Regions from separate parts of the Homo sapiens genome. Here all the other regions are linked to region 1. The links are contacts of gene promoters, found by promoter capture Hi-C in human tissues and cell types (Jung and others, 2019). All regions are on one chromosome and are shown on one strand. The core of a region is centred on a gene start or on the middle of the fragment in contact, and the rest is flanking DNA. Distances in the headings are between cores, read along the strand shown.

Region 1 (2,988 bases), core at 151-2,650:
AAGAGCATTCTTGTCACAACTGGACACGCGGTTCCAACTTGTTCTGCTCTCATACTGATCACTCCCTTGGAGCCTTAACATCTGTATGCTAATTACAGACACGGTGGCCGACGCTAGGCACACACAAATCCGTCTTAATCCCTCCCTTTTGCGTGGATGAAACCTGGTCCAACATTCGTAAAAGCATGCAAACCACACCATTGCTTGGGCGGGCACACTTCGTGCCCCTCCCCTATGCCTTGCCAGCCCCACCCTTCTCACAAACCACCCCTCCTCCTGCTTCTACTCTGACCTGAGCCTAACTAGCTGCTAGGTTTGGTAATAAGATTGAACGAAGACTCAGGAGGCCCTGTGGGCTCCATTATTCTGCATGCCCTGCGAGAACGGCCCACCCCTAGGGACGGCTGCTGCAACTCGAGCCCCACTTGCTGCCAGGAAACCTTTCCCACTGAGGACACCCGGGCATGCGGCGCAGCTCCAGGTCCAGGGGGAAGCACCCCACCCATCTGCCAGAGAGACAAAGATCACCAGAAACAAAGGACACACACACACACACACACACACACACACACTCGCACACTCAAAGTCAAAAGCAAATACCGACACTTGCAATTTCAAACCAAACAGTCGGCTTGGTCTATCTAAATAGATCTGGAGACAATCTAGGAGGGACAATGATTATGTGGTAATGACAGGCACTATCTGGGTTCGGAACCCACGCTGCCTCCGCCCTCCTCCCACCCGCGCTGCAGTTCCCAGGCGCATTTCCCAGCCTCAGGACACACGCTGCCAGAAGCAAGAGTGCTTCCACTCAAGGAAGCGCGCACACGCCGGAGACAGAGGCAGGGCGAGGGCAGCCAAAAGTAGGAAACACCCACCTTTAGGATCCCAGTTCACCTGTTTTCTTGGCGTCTCGATTGGAAATTTCATTGCTTCGTTGCCCAGAAGGGGAAGAAATGAAAAGAACCCAAATAATAATAAAGTCCTCAAGCTTTACACGCCTCGGTTTAGCAGTCCAACAAAACAATTTCCGAGGATGGGGGAGCCTTGGACTGGCTCGTGGAGGAACCCCAGAAAAAGACAGGTGGGAAAATATTAGCTTGGGGGAGAACTGGAGAGGGCTTGGGTGTTTGCACCGGCCAGGGGGTGGCCGGCCGCGGCCCCGTGGGTAAAAGAAAAAGTAAGATCGGCGAGGGGTGGATGAAAGGATGGAGAGGAAGGCTTGGGGAGATGGAAGAGCCAAGCTGCTTCCCAAAAGCGGTGCCGGCAGGTTAGGGGCTGCGCAGCCTGAAGGCTGGGGCTACGGAGAAGCCCACTGCAGTGTCACTCCAGCCCCCGAAGGCGTGTGCGCACACACTCCCGCACACACACACCCGCACACACACTCCCGGGCGCGCGCTTGGGCGGGCACGTCAGCCTCGCTCGGCCGCGCTGAGCGCACACGCCCCACCCCGGCCGCGGCTCCTCGCCCCCGGCGACGCCCCCCACTTCCCGCTCCCCGAAAGCCATTGGATGTAGGGGTGGCGCGGCGCCCGGGCAGCGCGCGGCGAGGGCGACCCTCCCCGCGGCGCGCCCCAGACGCCGCGCCCCGGCAAGAGGGAGCAGGGCGAGCAGCGGACCGAGGCTCCCAGCTGGGAAGGCGCGCTGAGCCCCCGGCACCCGGCTCGGGGCAGCGGGAGGCGGTCGCGGACTTGCCCGCGGGGCGGCGGGAGGCGGTGGGCGGTGGCGGGGAAGCCGCGGAGGGGCGGGGAACGAGCGGTGGGCGCGCCGCTACTTACTGGCTCGGCCGGCCGGCGGGCGGGCGTGGAGGCGGCAGCGGCGCGCTTGCTGGAGTTGCAGCCGGAGACACGCTTGGTTGCCTGGAAGGCGCTGCAGGAGGCGGAGGAAGGGCCGCTGCGGCTCCGCCGCAGACCTCGGCCTCCGGGTCACCTCTTCTCACCGCTCTCACCCTGAGCTCTCCCTCCTTCTCTTTTCTCACTTCATTTTTTTTCCTCCCGCGTCTGGCTCTCTCGCCTGAGTCCCGAACCCACGTCCCCGCCGCACTCCAAGGAGGCCCGTGCCAGCCATGAGCCTTTTGTTCTGGGACCGCTCCGCATCTGCTGCGCTCTCCCCGCCCGGGGAAGCTCGCTCCCAAGGCACAGCTTGGTCCCTTCCCCAGCTACCTGCAGCCGGACTGGGGCCGCTGGTCGTTGGCTGGAAAGGAGGCTTGAGAGAGGCACGGGGGCCCCCGGAGGAAAGCGGAGTTGCCAAGACCCGGCAGCTCCCGGAAGCGGCGGCCCCGGGATCCTGGGACCAGCAGGGCAGATGCGAAGGGACCCAGACCTGTTCCCGGAAAGGGGCTAAACCTGGAGCATTCGTCTAACGCCCTCTCACTGCCCCTGCTTGAAGCCCCACAGGGGTTTGTGGTGGGGCCTCAGTCTTCAGAAAAGCCAGGTGGTGCTGAGGTGCTCTTGAACGGGTCACTCCGAGTATCAACATGAATGATGCTGACAAATTGCTTCGGATGCCTCGCAACGGAGCCTTACACGTAGTAGGTGCTCAAGAAATACTTGCTAAATGAAGACATGAATTGCATGCTGCAGTGTTGGATAGGAAGTAGTTTAAACCCCTACTCTGGCTTCCAGATAAGGTTACTAAAATTTGTTGTTCATTCAACATATATATTGAACCCCTTCCAAGTGCCATCACTGTGCTATGTGCTGGCCATATGGCAGAGAACAAGACAGAGATCTTGCCTTCATGGGGCTTACTATCTAGTGCCATAAGGTCCTGTTAGATTGTTGTTGCCTTTACTTACGCATAGAAATTGCCCAGCTCATTCCTATGCCTGCCAGCTGGGGTCCTAAAATCCCACACTAGCAGCTGATCTCTAAGTTGCATGCTACTCTACGGCACCTTGAGGCTTCTGGGGAGCCCTATGTCAGCAGCATCTTTCTCACCATCCATCCGTCACTATCACATCAAGGTTTCTGAGTCCAAGAGCAAGAC
Region 2 (3,179 bases), core at 352-2,851, 33 kb before region 1:
CACGTGTGTTGTTCCCTCAACCTGGAACAGTCTTGCCCAGGGCCTTACAGGGTAGCTCCCTCTCAGTGCTCAATGCTGCCTCCTCAGCGAGGACTTCCTTCCTCACCACCCCACTGCAGAAGGGCCATTCTCCCCTCCAGTCTCTTCCTAGCCCACCACCTGGCTTGATTTTCCTCAAAGCAACTTAGTGCTAGCTGAGATTGTATTCTGTACTGATTTGCTCATTCCCTGTGTGTCTCCCTCATTAGAATATAAACTTCCCATCTAGAATATATGATTCAACCCAGCACCCGGGTTGGTCTCATTATAACACCACTCAGTCTACAGTCCAACCTTCACCCCACCTCTGCCCTCCATGTAAAAATTTCCATTTCCCTAAAGGAAATCCTGGAGAAGATCAAGAGTAACATGGCCTTTAGGATTCAAATGCTGCCTTTTCTTTCTGACTCATCTGAATGTACCTCCTTCTTTGCCTTTTAAAGTCACCAGGTGGTTTTTCTATTAATCATGAAAGAAGAATCTCACTGGGCTTCTTCTCTTTTATTCACACAGTTCCTCAGGCTGAAGCAGGGCCCCATTAGTGTGGTGTAAGTGATCTTGGGGAGAATCCAGTTTGGTGGAATTAATCATGCCCTTACACAGTTTTTTAGATTCACTTGAAGACAAGGCAACATTTGCCCAAGTGCCAGGGCCATGGACTTGCAGCTTTGGGTGATGGCAGGAATGGGAGCAATGTTGCATCAGCCTCCTCTGGGAGCTCTGCCCACTGGCCCTCATCATAGCTGCTTGTGTGATCTGCTCCTCTTAAGCTGGCCAATCTTTAGCTACACACACAGTGAAGAAGAGAGCCTGAGGGTAAACCCACCCATCTTTTAAGGGGGCTGTGATGAATTGTTCAAGCTTAGAATCAGATAGACCTGAGCTCATGTCCTTAGCTCTGTGGCCTTGAGAAAAAATACTTAAGCTCTCTAAGCCTCAGTGTTCTTATCCTTAAAATGGAAATTATACCTTTCCCTTAGTGCCATGGTGAGATTTCAGCAAGATAATTCACTTGAAGTGCCTGGCACAATGCCTGGCACATAGTAAATACTCAGTAAATGTCAGCTACTGTGATTATTACTAAGGGCATCGTGCTTGTGTATCTATTTTGGCATAAGCATTGTGTCTTATTCACCTTGTATGCCCAGCACACAGCAGAGGCACACTGTAGATACTTACAGGACAACTTTTTAAATAATTGGTAGGATCAGCAGGATAATGTTCGGTCCCCCAAAGATGTCCATGTCCTGATCCCTGGAACCTGTGAGCACATTACTTTACTACTTTACACGACAAAGGGATTTTGCTGATGTGATTAAGATCTTGAGATCAGGAGATGATCCTGGATTATCTGGGTGGGTCCAGTGTAATCACAAGGGGGAGCGGGAGGGCCAGAGAGAGGAGGCATGTGAGGACAGATGCAAAGGTTACAGTGGTGCAGCCATGAGCCAAGAAACATGAGCAGCCTTTAGAAGCTGGAAAAGGCAAGGGAAGGATTCTCCCTAAAGCCCCCAGAAGGAAACAGCCCTGTGGACACCTTGATTTTAGCCCCATATGACCCACTTAGGAAGTCTAACATGCAGAATGATATGATAAACTTGTGTTGTTTTAAGCTATGCAGTTTGTGCAACTTGTTATAGCAGCAAGAGGAAACTAATGCAATTAGTAACATGTTCTGGGTGCTTGCTCTGTGCCAGGCACTGTGTACATTTCACATGAATGCCCTCACTAAGCCTCACCGCAGACCAGGATGGAGGTTCTACTCTTGCTCCAGTGTTACAGATGGAGAAATCGAGGCACAGGGAAGTTAGGTACTTTGCCCAAAGCCTCAAAACTTATAACAGATGGAACGAGACTGACGTTCTAAGCTCTCTACTATGTGCAAAGATGAAAATTTACAGATGAAAACCTTTTGAGAAAATTCTTGCCAATGTCCCTATAAGGTACAAAGCCCTAAGCTAACATGGCCACAAGGAAACAACAAAATTATTTCTGCAGGTCATGCAGTTGCTATATTCAGAGCCAGAGGAAGACCTTTTCATTCACAAAAAAAAGGCACCCACCATGCAAGTTGTGCAGAAGCAAAGCATTCACCAGAAGCTTCTAGGTCAGCGTCAGGAAACAGGCAGGGAGGTATTCAAGTGGCAGAACCGTGCTGTGGGAAGAGGCCCACTAGGGCAGCCTGACAGGTGGTCCCTCTGCCGCGGAAAAGGGCAGCACCTGGACTATTTTTATTCCCACACGTCTTGTACAAACTATTGCTTTCACCAGCAGAAAATCATGAAGAAGCCAAACACTGCAGAACTGTAAATAGTGGGAAACTCCTGGTCGTGGAAACCACGGTTGGCTTTCTCAGGCACAGGAGTTTTCTAACTGTGCACAGAAGCCAGCCTTGAGCACCCCGCCCCTCGTTCCCCACCACCCCAATGGAGCACCATGTCACCTGCTTTATATACTGAGCTTCCCTGACAGCTTTCATTCAAAGAGAGGGTTTCTCTGTTACAAGGCAATGTTAAGTGAGCCCTTTCCTGTTGTCTTGGGGTTTATACTGAGATCTCTCAAAACTGAAGACTGAGGATCCATCAATGCAGAGCTTGCATATGATCTCTAAGCCATATAAGAGAATTCGCTGGAGAAAAAGCATTTCTTAGCAGAAAAGAACACATAGCATTGCAGCACTATGGCAAATGAAGGAGCAGAAAGAGAACTGCTCAGAGATCAGAGGGGTTGGCAGAAGGGGGTCTCAGCATCTGGAACCCCAGCTGGGTGCCTGCTGAACTGCATACTTCATAGAATGCACTGCTACAGGTAGGGGCATGAGAGATTTGTCTGAACTCAGGGCTGCCACATTAACTGTGCAATTCTAGGAGAACACATGTGAATGATGCCCTCTGGAGGTGTGCAATGAGACGGCCCTGGGAAAATCAGACATGGGTGCGCAGTGTTTGGCCTGTAATGCAGGCTGAGGAGGGTAGGCAACAGTGGAGTCACGTGCTTTCCCCATATATGGCAGCACAAAGATGCCTAATGGTTTCTCCTGGGCCAAGTAGGCACTGGATGGGGTCAGAAGCTACATCAAAGCCTTCAGAAAAAAGCCTTCCCCAAGAAGTCCATCCACTTGAGAAAAAAAGTTCAGGGTA
Region 3 (3,024 bases), core at 455-2,954, 46 kb after region 1:
TTTCATCACCCAGGTATTAAGCTGAGTATCCTTAGTTATTTTTCCTGATCCTCTCCCTCCTCCCTGCCTCCACCCTCCAATAAGCCCTGGTATGTGTTGTTCCCCTCTATGGGTCCATGTGTTATCATTTAGCTCCTACTTATAAGTGAGAAGATGTGATATTTGTTTTTCTGTTCTTGCATTAGTTTGCTAAGGATAATGGCCTCTAGCTCCATCTATGTCCCTACAAACGACATCATCTTGTTCTTTTTTATGGCTGCATAGTATTCCATGGTGTACATGTCCACATTCTTTATACAGTCTATCACTGATAGGCATTTGGGTTGATTCCATCTCTTTGCTATCATGAATAGTGCTGCAATAAACATATGCATGCATGTATCTTTATAATAGAATGACTTATATTCCTTTGGGTATATACCTAGTAATGATATTGCTGGGTTGAATGGTGTTTCTGACTTTAGATCTTTGAGGAATCTCCACACTGTCTTCCAGAATGGTTGAACTCATTTACACTCCCACCAACAGTGTACAAGTGTTCCTTTTTCTCTACAACCTCACTGGCATCTGTTATTTTTTGACTTTCTAATAATCACCATTCTGACTGGTGTGAGATGTTATCTCATTGTGGTTTTGAATTGATTTGCATTTCTCTAATGATCAGTGATGTTGAGATTTTTTTCATATGCTTGTTGACCACATGAATGCCTTCTTTTGAGAAGTATCTGTTCATGTCTTTTGCCCACTTTTTAATGAGGTTCTTTGTTTTTTTCTTGTAAATTTGTTTAAATTTCTAATAGATGCTGAATACTAGATCTTTGTCAGATGCATAGTTTGCAAAAATTTCCTGTCATTCTGTAGGTTGCTTGTTTACCCTGTTGATAATTTCTTTTGCTGTGCAGAAGCTCTTTAATTAGATTACTTTTGTCAATTTTTGCTTTTGTTGCAATTGCTTCTAGTGTCTTTGATGAAATCTTTGCCCAGAGTATACTTTCATATACCTGTTTGCCATTTGTATGTCTTCTTTTGAGAAATGCCTATTCAGATATTCTGCACACTTTTTAATTAGTTTATTAGATTTTTCTTTCTTATTGAGTTGTTTGAACTCCTTAGATATTCTAGTTGTTAATCCGTTGTCAGAGGAATAGTGTGCAAATCTTTTCTCCCATTCTGTGGGTTGTCTCTTCACTTTATTTTTTCCTTTGCTGTGCAGAAGCTTTATAACTTGATGTAATCCCATTTGTCTATATTTGCTTTGGTTGCCTGTGCTAATGGGGTATTGCCCAAAAAGTCTTTGCCCAGACCAATGTCCTGGTGTTTCCCCAATGTTTTCTTGTAGTAGTTTCATAGTTTGAGGTGTTAGATTTATTACTTAAATGCATTTTGACTTGATTTTGTTATATGGTGAGAGATAGATGTTTAGTTTCTGCATATGGATAACCTGTTTTCCCAGAACCATTTATTGAAGAGACTGTCAATTTCCCAATGCGTGTTCTTGAAACCTTTGTTGAAAATGAGTTAGCATAAACGTATGGATTTATTTCTGGGCTCTTCATTCTGTTCCACCAGTCTATGTGTCTGTTTTTATGCCAGAATCATGCTATTTTGGTTACTATAGCTCTGTAGTATAATTTGAAGTCAGATTATATGATTGCTCCAGTTTTGCTCTTTTTGCTTAGGATAGCTCTGGCTATTCTGGGTCTTTTGTGGTTGCATATACATTTTAGGATCGTTTTTTCATTTATGTGAAGAATGTCATTGGTATTTTGATAGAGATTGTATTGAATCTGTAGATTGTTTTCGGTAGTATAGACATTTTAACAACATCAATTTTTCCAATCCATGAACATGGAATATCTTTTCATTTTCTCATGTCCTCCTCAATTTCTTTCATCAATTTCTTTTATAGTTTTCACTACAGAGATCTTTCAGTTCTTTGGATAAATTAATTGCTAGATATTGTATTTTATTTGTAGCTATTGTAATTGGTATTTATAAGCTATTGTAATATTGACTTGCAAAAATTAGCCTGTAAGTACTAGACAGATGATTGGCAAGATGGCCAAATAGGAACAGCTCCAGTCTGCAGCTTCCAGCCAGACCAATGCAGAAGGTGGGTGATTTCTGCATTTCCAACTGAAGTACCCAGTTCATCTCATTGGAACTGGTTAGACTGTGGGTGCAGCCCACAGAGAGCAAGCAGAAGAAAGATGGGGCATTGCCTCATCCAGGGAGCACAAGAGGTTGGAGAACTTCCTCCCCTGACCAAGGGAAGCCATGAGGGACTCTGCTGTGAGGGACAGTGCTATCAAGCCCAGATACAACGCTTTTCCCATGGTCTTCACAACCCACAGACCAGGAGATTCCCTTGGGTGCCTATACCACCAGGGCCCTGGGTTTCAAGCACAAAACTGGGTGGCCATTTGGGCAGACACTGAGCTAGCTGCAGGAGTTTTTTTTTTTGTTTGTTTTGTTTTGTTTTTGTACCGCAGTGGTGCCTGGAATGCCAGCGAGACAGAACCGTTCACTCCTCTGGAAAAGGGGCTGAAGCCAGGGAGGCAAGTGGTCTTGCTCAGCATATCCCATCCTACAGAGCCCAACAAGCTAAGATCCACTGGCTTGAAATTCTCCCTGCCAGCACAGCAGTCTAAAGTCGACCTGGGATGCTCCAGCTTGATGAGGGGAGGGGCATCTGCCATTACTGAGGCTTAAGTAGGTGGTTTGCCCCTCACAGTGTAAACAAAGCTGCCAGGAAGTTCGGACTGGGCAGAGCCCACCACAATGCCAAAAAGCCACTGCAGCAGACTGCCTCTCTGGATTCCTCCTCTCTGGATAAGGCATCTCTGAACAAAAGGCAGCAGCCTCAGTCAGGGGCTTATAGATAAAACTCCCATCTCCCTGGGACAGAGCAACTGAGGGAAGAGGCGGTTGTGGGCACAGCTTCAACAGACTTCAACATTCCTGTCTGCCAGCTCTGAAGCGAGCAGCAGATCTCCCAGCACAGCACTTGAGCTCTGCTAAGGG
Region 4 (3,057 bases), core at 425-2,924, 50 kb before region 1:
CTGACTGCTCATCCCCCAACATTATATTATAAGATGCCCTTCCTTTGTGTCTCAATATGAAGTTTAGCAGAGAACCTACAACTAGGAGACCCCTGGTTACAGTTTGTTTCATTCCTGAATTTGTTCATTCATCCATTCTCCCATTTGCTTTGGGCCAGCATTTATGGTATCAAGTTCACACACCTGCCCAACAGAAACTTTGACTGCAGAGTTAATCCTGCATATGGAAGCACCCCTGGCACTATTGTGGTTTTTTCCCATAGGCAGAAATCCAGAGTCAAGGTGTTAACATTCTCAAAAAGCAAACAGTCCAAAGAGAGTTCTTCATGGTTTGTACAAGCGCTAGAGTGGACAGACAAGAGACAGGGCAGTATTTTACTTCACTGGGCTCCAAACACTCAGTTCGGGCCTTTCTTGTTCCTTCATGAAGAGCTACAAGCCTCTCTTTTACTCAGGGGTACAAAATACTTGTGAGATTTTAAAAATTCTATTGAATGGCATGAGTCACACTTGGTGAGTCCCCTCTCTGGTGGAAGACAGGCAGAATTTACCCTGAGTCTGCCTTCCTGGGGTCCCTCTGACTGGGGCCAAACTGCATAAACTGTGATTTGAGGACCCAAAAGACTAAAGGGCTTTTCTTTCACCCCACAAGCTGGGGAGAGAACAAGGGGTTCACATGAGACTTAAAGGAGCAGTGACTTCCTTCTCGGGACTTGTAAGCTCGACAGTTTCCCCTGATTTTTCCCCAAATCTCTTCTTGTATTTATAAACCAAAGGTATGGCAAAAAAAAAAAAAAAGTCAGAAGCCTCTCCACTAGCAGACAGGCCCCAGAGAACAAGGTTATCAGGGTTAGAGGAAGCAGGGGGAAGGTTGGACTTCAACAGCCACCCAGCTTACCCCTACCATAGGTCTGTCTTCCACGATGGCCCCACCCTCCACAGGAAACACTGGGCAGGGCTCCTAAAAGACAGTCCCTTCTCCAAGCCTCCTTCCTCCTCCCTGGAAAGGGACAGAAGCAGTAGCACTATTGGGAAGATTTAACATAAAATGTACGGCATGTTGCTCAATGCCTTGTTCAAAGCAAGTCCTCAATCAACGTGAGCTGTCCACATTATTAGGAGGTGAAGAAAACTACGTGTTCTATGCAAGCAAATGCAACAAAGCGTGCAGATGCTGTGTTTGACAGAGGTGTGGGGGACAGAAAGACATGAAGAGAGAGTGTCAGTGCCACCGAAGAGGAGACGAGAATGCAAAGACAAGGTGCCCACTGGTGTGGAAAGGGCATTAGGTGTCTGCGAGAGGGCAGAAGGAGGTGGAGAGGAAGGCGGAACAGCAATGGGGGGGCAACAGATACAAAGACACTCAGCCATGAATCAGCCTGGGGCATTTGGGAAATTACCTCAGGTCTGCGTGTCAGGACTAGAGGGTGTGAAGATGGCTACACCAAAATAAAGCTGCAAAGACAAGCAGAGGAGAGAGTGTGGCTCTTGTTGGTCTTATTAATGAGCGTGGGAAGCCATCAAGGCTAACACAGGGAGAAGAGCCAGGGGGTCAGACCTGGGTTTAGCAAGCTGACTCTGGCAGCAGTGCGTAAGAGACATGCAGCAAGTGAGAGATCGTCTGTGGGGGGTGTGGGTAGGAGTTTACTGGAATGTATTATGAGGCCTCAACTCAGGCAGCAGCAGAGGAGGAGTCAGAGACAAGGCGTGTTAAGGAAGTAAAATGTGCGGGTCCTAGTGATGGATGCAAAGGAAGAAAGGAGGCGTCTGGGATGACTCTTATAAGCTTATAACAGTATCATGCTCTGCAAGACAGAAAATGCAGGAGAGTTAGGTGTGCAGCTCCTGTAGCCCATCCAGGTGGAGCTATCCAGTTAACATGAGGCATAAGGGACCAGAACTCAGGGGAATAATCTAGCTGAATCCCTAGATTTAAGAGTGATGAGTATGTAAGTGGTACTGAAGCCACAGGACTGGATGAAGTGGTCCAGAGGGAGATGTAAAATGAGAAGAGAGTAAAAGATGATGCTCAAGGGAGCAACATTTAAGGGACAGCAAAGGGAGGGGGATGCATGACAGAGAAAGAAAAAACTAGAGAGGAAAAGGGGAGAACTGGGCTGGGCGTCAGCATCAGAGATGGTAGATCTTATCCCAGTCTCTGTCTCCAGCACCATTCACAAGGCCTGACCCACAGGAAGTCTCAGTGTGTGCCTGATGACTTCAGTACTATACCATAGCAGCATTTTGCTGTTTTTACCACTTTCTATCTCGGGCTGCCAGGAAACCCTGTTCAACAGCACTCCTGTTCCAGAACTTCTGAGCATTTTTGGTTGCTCCTGGTAGCAGGTGGGATGCCTTTATTGTTCCGATAAAATAAACTCTCACCCTCCGACCCAGGGCACAAATTGCCCAGGACCAGAGCTATTCCTTGTGTGTGCTGAGCTGGTCAGAGCAGCCCAGGCATATCCGACTGGACCACCATCTTTTGGGATTTAGAGCTGCCTACCTCGTGATTCTCCCAATAGACTCTGACTCCGCCATGTTGACGAGATGGACTTCTTTATCCTGCCTCCATGATCAAGGCCCTAAAGGTGCACACAGCCACAGCTGGGGTTCCTTGTGTCTTTTTCCAAAATGCTTCCTGAATATCATATTCTGTCTCTTGCCCTAAGTTTTTTCCTCCACAATTTAAATTAACTAGCGCACTTTATACAGGAAAGACCTTTATCCTCCTCTTGGGATTAAAAGTAATACAAGCAGTCATAGTTCTCAAAATATCCCCTTTCCCTGGGGCCAAGGGTTTTAAATCTTATTGTCAACGCCATTCCTTCCAGATGTCTTTCCCAGGTGTCTTGTCAAAAGCAGTTATCTCTCCTCACTGGCTCCCGGAGGGGTCTCCCCCCACCCCCCACCCTGCCCTAGGCTCCACTCAGCAGCCAGGTGAGCCTTCTGAAATTCCCAGCTTGCACCTATTAAAACTCCACAAGCACCGCCATGGTTCTTTCCCTGGCCTCCAATGTCCCGTGTGCTCAGGGCTCATCTCACTTCTCCAGCCCT

Evidence for each region. The method cuts DNA at HindIII sites, captures the fragments that hold promoters and counts their contacts. A contact is called where the count stands out against the background at its distance.
Region 2: a contact is called between a fragment that was not itself captured here and the fragment with the promoter of KCNK10 in region 1, in 2 of the 25 tissues and cell types used here (adrenal gland and bladder).
Region 3: a fragment that was not itself captured here is called in contact with the fragment with the promoter of KCNK10 in region 1 in 2 of the 25 tissues and cell types used here (adrenal gland and neural progenitor cells).
Region 4: a contact is called between a fragment that was not itself captured here and the fragment with the promoter of KCNK10 in region 1, in 1 of the 25 tissues and cell types used here (spleen).

What each region holds. Positions count from the first base shown.
Region 1 is chr14:88,321,869-88,324,856 of GRCh38, forward strand. It overlaps KCNK10 (potassium two pore domain channel subfamily K member 10), which reads right to left and starts at 1,401. Exons shown (of 7, transcript NM_138317.3): 1 at 879-1,401. The coding sequence starts at 930. RefSeq lists enhancers at 747-1,406, 1,979-2,038 and a silencer at 1,689-1,928. The HindIII fragment of the contact is 9,751 bases long and covers 1-2,988 here.
Region 2 is chr14:88,288,779-88,291,957 of GRCh38, forward strand. The region is part of intron 1 of KCNK10 (potassium two pore domain channel subfamily K member 10); the gene reads right to left. Among named protein-coding and RNA genes, the nearest start is that of KCNK10, 33 kb to the right of the region's middle. The HindIII fragment of the contact is 5,467 bases long and covers 1-3,179 here.
Region 3 is chr14:88,367,502-88,370,525 of GRCh38, forward strand. No RefSeq gene overlaps it. Among named protein-coding and RNA genes, the nearest start is that of SPATA7, 17 kb to the right of the region's middle. The HindIII fragment of the contact is 5,913 bases long and covers 1-3,024 here.
Region 4 is chr14:88,271,144-88,274,200 of GRCh38, forward strand. The region is part of intron 1 of KCNK10 (potassium two pore domain channel subfamily K member 10); the gene reads right to left. Among named protein-coding and RNA genes, the nearest start is that of KCNK10, 51 kb to the right of the region's middle. The HindIII fragment of the contact is 5,825 bases long and covers 1-3,057 here.